Regions from separate parts of the Homo sapiens genome. Here region 2 is linked to region 1. Evidence: promoter capture Hi-C in 16 types of primary human blood cells and fetal thymus (Javierre and others, 2016). All regions are on one chromosome and are shown on one strand. The core of a region is centred on a gene start or on the middle of the fragment in contact, and the rest is flanking DNA. Distances in the headings are between cores, read along the strand shown.

What was found. The method cuts DNA at HindIII sites, captures the fragments that hold promoters and counts their contacts. A CHiCAGO score of 5 or more calls a contact.
Region 2: a contact is called between a fragment that was not itself captured here and the fragment with the promoter of TRAM1 in region 1, in 1 of 17 cell types (naive CD8 T cells). The highest score is 5.2, in naive CD8 T cells.

What each region holds. Positions count from the first base shown.
Region 1 is chr8:70,606,866-70,611,394 of GRCh38, reverse strand. It overlaps TRAM1 (translocation associated membrane protein 1), which reads left to right and starts at 2,979. Exons shown (of 11, transcript NM_014294.6): 1 at 2,979-3,318. The coding sequence starts at 3,196. LACTB2-AS1 (LACTB2 antisense RNA 1) reads right to left here and starts at 2,818. Exons shown (of 4, transcript NR_038881.1): 1 at 2,562-2,818. RefSeq lists silencers at 2,813-2,982, 3,063-3,112, 3,173-3,232, 3,283-3,462, 3,483-3,932. The HindIII fragment of the contact is 3,860 bases long and covers 881-4,529 here.
Region 2 is chr8:73,288,061-73,292,619 of GRCh38, reverse strand. RPL7 (ribosomal protein L7) reads left to right here. Exons shown (of 7, transcript NM_000971.4): 3 at 215-381; 4 at 710-847; 5 at 959-1,068; 6 at 1,368-1,577; 7 at 1,915-2,378. The coding sequence ends at 1,576. Among named protein-coding and RNA genes, the nearest start is that of RPL7, 3.3 kb to the left of the region's middle. The HindIII fragment of the contact is 3,218 bases long and covers 238-3,455 here.

The sequences.
Region 1 (4,529 bases), core at 1,730-4,229:
GATAAGATTAAAAGACAGAAAATAAAAGTATTGGCAAGGATGGGAAGAAATTGGAACCTCTACACATTGCTAATAGGATGGGAAATAGTGCATTCACTTTGGAAATTAGTGTGAGAGTTCCTCAAAACGTCAAACATAAAGTTGCCTTATGATCAGCAATTCCACTGCTAGGTATATACCCAAAGGAATTGAGTTCAAACAAAAACTTGTACACAAATGTTCATCAACTGATGAATAAGATGTGCTATAGCCATACAATGGAATATTATTTGGCCATAAAAAGGAGTGAAGTACTGATACATGTTACAACATCGATGAACCTTGGAAACATTATCTTCAGTGAAAGAAGTCAGTCACAAAAGATCATGATTCTATTTACATGTAATGTCCAAGCTGGCCATGGTGGTTCACACCTGTAATCCCAGCACTTTGGGAGGTGGGAGAATTTCTTGAGGCCAGGAGTCCAAGGTTGCAGTGAGCTATGATCATGCCACTGTACACCAGCCTAGGCAACAGAGCAAGACCCCATCTCAAAAAAAGAAAGAAAAGAAACAAAGAAAGAACAAAAAGAAATGTCCACAATAAGCAAATATAGAGAGGTAGAAAATAGGTCAGTTGTTGCCAAGGGCTGCCAAGACTATGAGGGGAAATGGAGAGTTACTGGTAATGTGTATAAGGTTTCTTTTAGAGATTACAAGAATGTTCTAAAGTTATATTATGGTGATTGTTGCACAACTTTGCAAACATACTAAAAACCACAGAATTGAATATCTCAAATAGCTGAACTATATGACATAAATTATACTGCAATAAAACTATTTCAAAAATGCAATTGAATCATAAAAGATAAATTGCTTAGGTCACAGAATTCAGTGAAGCTTTCGAAGAGGTCATGTGTAAATGAGACATGAAGGAACAGCAGGAGCCTGCTGTGTCTATGAAAGGACAGGAGAAAACATTCCAGACAGAGACAGCAGTACACGCAAAGGCAGGGGAGAGCATGGGAAGAGAGCATGTCATGGCATGTACAGTCGTCCCTCAGTCTTCACAGGGGACTGGTTCCAGGGCCCCCGCGGATACCGAAATCCACCCATGCTCAGGTGCCTTATATAAGATGATGCAATATTCTGGTAAAGAATATCCTAAATCCTCCCACAGACCTCCAATCATTTCTAGATTACTTATAATAACACAACATAACTGCTAAATAAATAGTTGGCTGTACTATATTATTTAGGGAATAATCATGGGGGGGTAGTCTGTAGATGTTCAGTACAAATGCAGTTTTTTTCTTGAATATCTTTTACTCCAGGTTGGTTGAATCCACAGTGTATGCGGCACCCACAGATATGGAGAGGCAACTGTATAGTGTGTGTAGTCAATAATGCTGGTACAGAGATTATGGCCTGTAGATGCAGGGCTCCAGTCTGTTGGGGTAGGCAAGGACCAAATCAGAAAGGGCTATTTCATCATGCTAGCTTTCCATGAAGGGAAAGGGAACCCGCTGAAAAACTTTCTGCCAGTAGAAGCATCATTCTAGTATAAACGTTGAAAGGTGATCTGAAGGGAAATGAAACTAGTGATTGCCCAGAAGGAGGAAAAGAATAATCCCTGACTAAATTTATAAAGCCCTTACTCCCCGCTAAGCAGTTTCCTTCAATCATCTCATTTAATCACTAAAATGAGCAATAGTTATCCCCACTTTATAGATGATATCCACAGGGCTTGCTCCCTCACCTCCTGCAGGTCTTCAGGCAAGTATAAGTGCCTCGCACTTTCCTATTCCCCTTGCTTTATTTTTCTCCTGGTTGCTCAACTCAATTTAACATCTGTTTCGCTTTTGAAATCTTGTTTAAAGATTCTCTCCCACACTAGAATGATAAGTCCCTAGGAATAATTTAATTTGTATTTCAGTTCTGTATCCCCAGTGCCCAGGACACAGTCAACCCTCAGTAAGTACATAAATGAATACATTTTTAAAAATGAGGAAATCGGGTCCCATAGAGATTAAGTAACTTGTCCTTGATCGTACAAGTAATAAGTGGCAGAATTCTGATTTAACAACCCACATTCTTAAACCACTAAGTGGTTACACCAGAGTTGTAATATTGTAGGCAAGAGGCAAGTACCCTCGGACTGCGGTAGTGGGGAAGCGGGGTGATAGGTCTGCCTCGAATTGGTGATGACTGGATGTGGAAGGGCGCTGAAAGGGCTCAATCTAGCATGACTTTGGTTTCTACATTTGGCTTATGGGTAAACAGGAGAGCAATTCTTCAGGAAAAAGAATACAAAGGACTCCAGGTTTGGGCAAAACGATAAGAGGAGGACGTGTCTTAATCCACGATCCTTTTTAACTCTTTTACTATTTCCCTTAGATTACTAAAACATGTTGTTAATTTGAATATATGTGAAGCCAGTAAACCCAAACTGATCCCTTCGTCTTCAGTCTGAGGCCAGTGGGGGATAGGGGTGGGGATGGGGACGGGGATGGGGGTGGGGACGGAGAGGCAGACCAGAATAGGGTCAGCTCTTTTTTTTTTTTTAAGTTAGTCCAAACTTACCAAGAGTAGAAATAAGTCCCCAGCAGTGCTTAACTCTGAGGTAATTTTTAAGGCAGATGCTAAAACTGGAGAATACACCGTACCCTTGTGGAGTCAGGTAGTATTCGTAGTTTTAGATTATCCTGACGGTGTTAGTCACTTGTAGAAGTGACAATGTGCAACAGGCCACTGACACCCAATCCCTGGATGGCCAGGAGGGCAGGAGGGCACCCGGCCGCGGCCTCAGGCTGCTGAGCAGGCGCAGGAAGCTCGCGCCTCAAACGACTCCCAAACCCGGGCCCGGCGCGAAGCAGGGAAGCGCCGCTCACATTCCTGCACGCTCGCCCGGCCGCGGGCCAGCGGCCTCCGGTCCCCAGGTGGCGCTGTGGGCTCGCGGAGGCGGCCGCGGCACCAGGGAGCGTCGTCTCCCTGGTGCGCATGCTCGCCCCCGCTGCGGGCTAGCTGTTGTGTTTTTTTTTTTCCCCCGGGCGGCCCGGCGGCTGCGTACTGGCTGTGGGATGGGAAGTGAAGCCCCAGCGAGCGGCTGCAGCGGGGCCGTGAGGAGCAGCCAGCGGGAGGCGGCGGCGAGTCGGTGAGCAGCTGGGAAGAGCAGAACCGGGGCGGAGCACCTGCAGGCGCGGGCGGCGGCCCCACCATGGCGATTCGCAAGAAAAGCACCAAGAGCCCCCCAGTGCTGAGCCACGAATTCGTCCTGCAGAATCACGCGGACATCGTCTCCTGTGTGGCGATGGTCTTCCTGCTGGGGCTCATGTTTGAGGTGAGCCCGCCCCGAGTCCCAACCGCCTGCCCCGCCACCTCCAGCCCGGGCCCGGGCTCCAGATGCCAGCCCCGGCTTCTCCGCCCAGGACGCGGGGGGCTCGGGCCCGGGGTGGGTGCAGACCCCCAGTCCCTGAGGTGCAGGCCTTCCCTGCCCTGCCCCACGTCGGCGGCAGCTCCCCGGCGGCCGGCCCGGAGATGCAAAGTCCCGGTGGGCCTCATCGCGGCCCGCAGGGGGTGGGGACCGCCGCGTCGCCCCCTTCCTGACCCGCCGCCGCCCCCTCCCGCAGGCTGCGCGGCGCAGTTCCTGGTTCCCGCGAAGGGTTACGTGGCAGCCGGCGAGGGGCCTGCGGGCGGGGGCGGCCCCTGCGCTGCCGAGCTGGCTCGGGGCGGGTGGGCGGACTTGGGGGGACTGCCAGCCTCGGCCGCGGTGAGCGTCAGCCCCGCGAGGGCCGGGGAAGGCCGAGGCCCGGCCCCCGGGTCTGAGGAGTGCCGGCCTGGAGACCACAGGCCCCGAGTGACAGGGGAGCCCCCGGTAGCTCCGAGATTGGGGTGAGCGAGAAACCGGAGTCAGGCATCTGCTTTCGACTTGAAGGGCGGTGGCCGCCGGGCACCGGCGCAGTGGAGGCGCGCCAGATTGTTTTCATTTTTGTCTTTTAAACTGATATTATTACCAGTTAACGAACTTTTTGCCCTGACGCTTTAAAGAAACAAGGTCTGATGGATAAATCGAGGTTCTGAACAGCGGTGCCAAGGAATCGAGTAATTTTGTTTCTTGAAGTAGGAGAGGATGGGAATGTCAGGAGTGTGTAAATTCTCTTCCCACGTATCTAGTATTTTGATGACTTATTTAACAGCTGTTGAATGTGGATGATAAACTTTGCAAGGTGAACGAGTAACATCCTACGTTTTTCCCCTCGCTCCCCAATACACACGCTCATTCCTTTGCTTTTTTCCCTTTTTAATTTTTCTCTGGAGCCTTTATGTCTCAGTAAATATACAAATTATTTTGCTCCTGCCTTGTTTTGTCTCCTCTCTCCTGCATGTAACAAGTGAGAGTAGAGATTTTGGAGTATTTTTACGAGTCTGTATTTCCAGAGTCTAGGATAGTGCCTGGGACATAGGAGTGCTTAAAAAAAGATGAGCGACGTTAAGAATCCTTGAGAAAACCTAATGGAATGATATTACCAGTGACCAAAAGGTGAATACATT
Region 2 (4,559 bases), core at 597-3,096, 2.7 Mb before region 1:
TCTTGGCAAGATTTACTTCCTAACTGTACTGAGTAATTGCTTAGCTACCTAATGTTACAATCTGAAGGTAGTGGGGTTTTTTGGTGGGGGATGTAATTGCATACTGTGGCAAGAAAAGATTTAAAGGAAACATGTTGTAGTTTTCTTTTTAATGATTGGCATTGCTAATTGTGATTGAGCTAAAAATTATGAATAACTGATTATTGGTTTTCAGCTTCGAAAGGCAAGGAGGAAGCTTATCTATGAAAAAGCAAAGCACTATCACAAGGAATATAGGCAGATGTACAGAACTGAAATTCGAATGGCGAGGATGGCAAGAAAAGCTGGCAACTTCTATGTACCTGCAGAACCCAAATTGGCGTTTGTCATCAGAATCAGAGGGTAAGTTCAGTTTTACTGCATTCGGGTTTGAATGGGAAAAAAAAAAAAAACCTTCACATTACTTCTGGGAGCCCTGATTCTGAAACACCGGAGTAACAATATTTTAGGGGAAGCTAGAACAAGGAGGGTGCTGATCACTAATGGTTTAGTTGCAAGCCATGTTCCCCAAGCTCCTATCCCTTCTCTTAATAGAATACAGAAATTCAGTGTGTAACATGAGAGGATTCCTATCTGTTTAGGTAGGATTCGATATTCAAAACTATAATGGTTAGTATTAATAAAAATTTCGATGAAAGGCAAATGCATTTCTGGTCCGTTTTCACCACAGTATCAATGGAGTGAGCCCAAAGGTTCGAAAGGTGTTGCAGCTTCTTCGCCTTCGTCAAATCTTCAATGGAACCTTTGTGAAGCTCAACAAGGCTTCGATTAACATGCTGAGGATTGTAGAGCCATATATTGCATGGGGGTAAGTCTCTTTTCTCCTTTGATTTCTATTTGATAAATTGGTTATGTAGCAACATGAATTTTAGATGTTTTAACAGTGGTCACCTTATTTATGTTTGCTTTTTCACTTCAGGTACCCCAATCTGAAGTCAGTAAATGAACTAATCTACAAGCGTGGTTATGGCAAAATCAATAAGAAGCGAATTGCTTTGACAGATAACGCTTTGATTGCTCGATCTCTTGGTAGGTTCTATTTGGGGGAAAATTTGGTATTAGACCATGCGATAATTTCTTACCCTCTTGTGGCCGTACATTTCTCACTATTGTGAATCTTCATGTGTTCCCTATGATTCTTGATTTAGCTTAAAAGAAAACGTAAGACATGGTTTCATTAGCTTGAACCTTATCTTTGTAAAGCCATGCATTTACCTTGTTTATTCCTGGTTATGTTTTCATCTCACAGCCTATTCAAAAAGATTTTGAATAATTATTTCAAAACTTTTTGCAACTTTAATAATCTTAAATAACCTTAAAATATTTAGGTAAATACGGCATCATCTGCATGGAGGATTTGATTCATGAGATCTATACTGTTGGAAAACGCTTCAAAGAGGCAAATAACTTCCTGTGGCCCTTCAAATTGTCTTCTCCACGAGGTGGAATGAAGAAAAAGACCACCCATTTTGTAGAAGGTGGAGATGCTGGCAACAGGGAGGACCAGATCAACAGGCTTATTAGAAGAATGAACTAAGGTGAGAGACCTCATCCTGAGAAAGGTTGAGTTAATGTTAGAGTATAAGTGGTGGTAATCTTGAATACTTTTCCCATTAAATATTGATGGGGGTTTGAATTTTAATCAGTGCTTTTGTGGGGAGTGGGGGTCAACTATCTTAATGATTACAGTTGGTTTGTTTACTGCTTTTGAGGACCTTTCTGGAGGAAAGGAAAAGCCTGTTTTGGGGAGTCTTTAAAGATGGAAATTGGGTGGTCTTAAAAATGTAAACTCAATCATTACTTTATAACTGCCTAGTTTATGTTAATTGTTAGCTGCCTAAAGTGTTTTCTAATGGTTTTCTTTTTTCCTTTCAGGTGTCTACCATGATTATTTTTCTAAGCTGGTTGGTTAATAAACAGTACCTGCTCTCAAATTGAAATATATTGTTGTATTTGTGATTTGTTGTTGTTGTTGTTAGCCTGCCTCTGTCTTCCCTTAACTACTGTGGCAAGTGTGGTGTGTGATAAAATTAAGCCAAATCAACAGCCCATTTCGTGCAAAATCAGGGTCGAGTCTGTGTGAAAGACATCTCTTGGGTTTTTAAAAGGCTTTTCTATACAAAAGATTTTAATTTTTTGTTTTTTAACTGTGCTGAGTGATTCGAAATGGGTTTATTCTAAGAAAGCCTGTTTCACAAGCATTTGTACATGATTTGTCGGTAAGGTAATCCAACTTTGGTTTATGGAAAAAATTGAATTTAGTTGCTAAAATTTATTTCTCGGGCCTTCGCTTGTTTATAAACTGCCATGTAAATGTGTTGTTTTCCTTTTGCATTCCATTTTTGTGTTCTTGTTTTGCATCTTTTGCCATACTTACGTGAGTTACTAATAATTGTTACATACTGTGGGTATTATGAAGGAAGGCATGAAATTTGTGCCCAGGGATGCAAATTATTTCAGAGCATCTGATGAAATTAATGGGCAAAAACTTCAAAGGTTTTTTTGTAAATAACATTCCTTTATACTTCATGTATTGTTTCACCTAGACTAGTGAACAATGTAGAGTGTAACATGAAGTACATAGAATGAGAGTAAAAATGTTTGTGGTCCTCATTTAGTTGTCAAAGTTCTGACACACTGAAACAGCTCCCTTAGTAATTATTTTGGTACTACTGCTCCACAGTCATTTATTGCTTTTTAATATTCGAAAGTTGCTAGACAAATAGAATTTCTTTGAGTTCTTTGTTCCTGGTTTTGGGACCTATTTCTCTGGCTTAGTAAGTTTGTTTAGGGTCAGTGAATTTTGGAGAGAAATCAAGATGATCGTTTATAAAAATCATTTTACATATTTATGATTGTATCAGTGTTTTGCTAGATGTTTTTTGTCTTAGCAGTTGGGTCAATATTTTGAAATAGTACATGGATATCTAGGTAGAGCCAAAGAGTTTATTTTTTAATTTTCCTTTGTAGAGATGAGATCCACACCAGCCTGTATTCCCCAGCATGTTACTGAACTCCTGGCCTCAAGCAATCCTACTGCCTCAGTCCCCTGAATAGTTGGGATTACAGGCATGACCCACTGCCTCCAGAGGGTTTTTAAGTTATAAATTCAGTTTTGTCTTACTGCTTTGGTAGATAGAGAGTACAGTTCCCAGTGTTAGCACATCCAGTGTCATGAAGGGTAGTTGTGCCTCAGAAGATGTCAGAGCCTGTTTGGCTTCCAGGTTTTAGAGGAATAGTGAGGGCCATCAGTGGCCTCTGCAGGGTCAGAATTAAGACTAATTATGGAATGAAGTTGTACAGATGGTGTATTGCTTGCTTAATCTAGGTGCAGGTGGGTGGGTGCATGAAATGTGGGAAGTCTTCATTGGGATAGGAATAAGCACTTTATATACAGAGAGATACTTAGCAAAGCTTTTTTTAAAAAAAAATATATAAATATATAGCCCATGCAGACACATATTGTAAGTGTGGCCTGGGGCCAGGGAGGATGGGGAAATGTGGGAGGGGTTGCAGAGAACCAGGATTCCCATAGAGAACAGAGTAAAGTGGGATAACCAATCTGGTTTTATAAGAGGATTGTGAGGAACAATAATAGGTACGAAAATGTTTGTGAGCTGGTGGAACCTATTCAAATGCAGATTAACACCTGATTAGGAAACTCACTTCTTATAAATGTCATTGCTTTCAAGGGATCCTCCTCTGGAAGGCCTAACCAACCTTAGGGGTCTGGGCACCCAGTAGGTTCTCCTACAAGATTACACCTCATATATGTTTATTTCCTGTTCATCCTTCTAAGGTCCGGCTTTCTCTAGTGGATGGTCCCTTAGCTATCTCAGTTTTTATAAAGTTGTCTTGGACTCACTGGCCTTTAACCAGTGTTAACCTAGTTAGTAACTTCTTTGAAGGTTCATTTGTGGTTCGCTGGATTAGGAGTGTTGGCTTCGGAGCCAGAGTGCTTGGGTTCATATCTAGTCTCCACTTATTTGTTAGCGTGGGCCAATAAATAATCTCTGTCTCGGTTTCCATGTCAGCAAAATGGAGATAATTTTGCCTAATTTCATAGGATTTTAATGAAGATTAAATGTTAACAGGTCCTGTAAAATGCTTAGAGCAGCGCCTAGCTCGAAAGTGCTCAATGCTGCTGTGCAGTATAGCTTCAGCACTTAATGTGGGCACACAACAGTGAATTACGGAAAATAGCCTCTGCTTTCAGGTATCAGTCTGATGGGAAGACAGGCAACAGATACAGTGAAATGAGTGCCCTGGGGATGTATAGGATGTGATAGAGCTTCTTAGGGGTGTCTGGTGTCTTTGTGGGCCCACCTCCATGGGAAGATTGACAGCTTTCTGCTCCCAGTGGTTTTCCTTAGAAATGTGGTGTCAAAGAGCCAAAACATTCCTCTCATGTGCCTCCCTTCTGTTAGGTAGTAAACTTTAAGGCCAGGCCTTTTAATTTCTGCCCATTTGCTGACATGTAGGCACTCAGTGTTAAGTGAATGTATTAGTTTTCTTTTGCT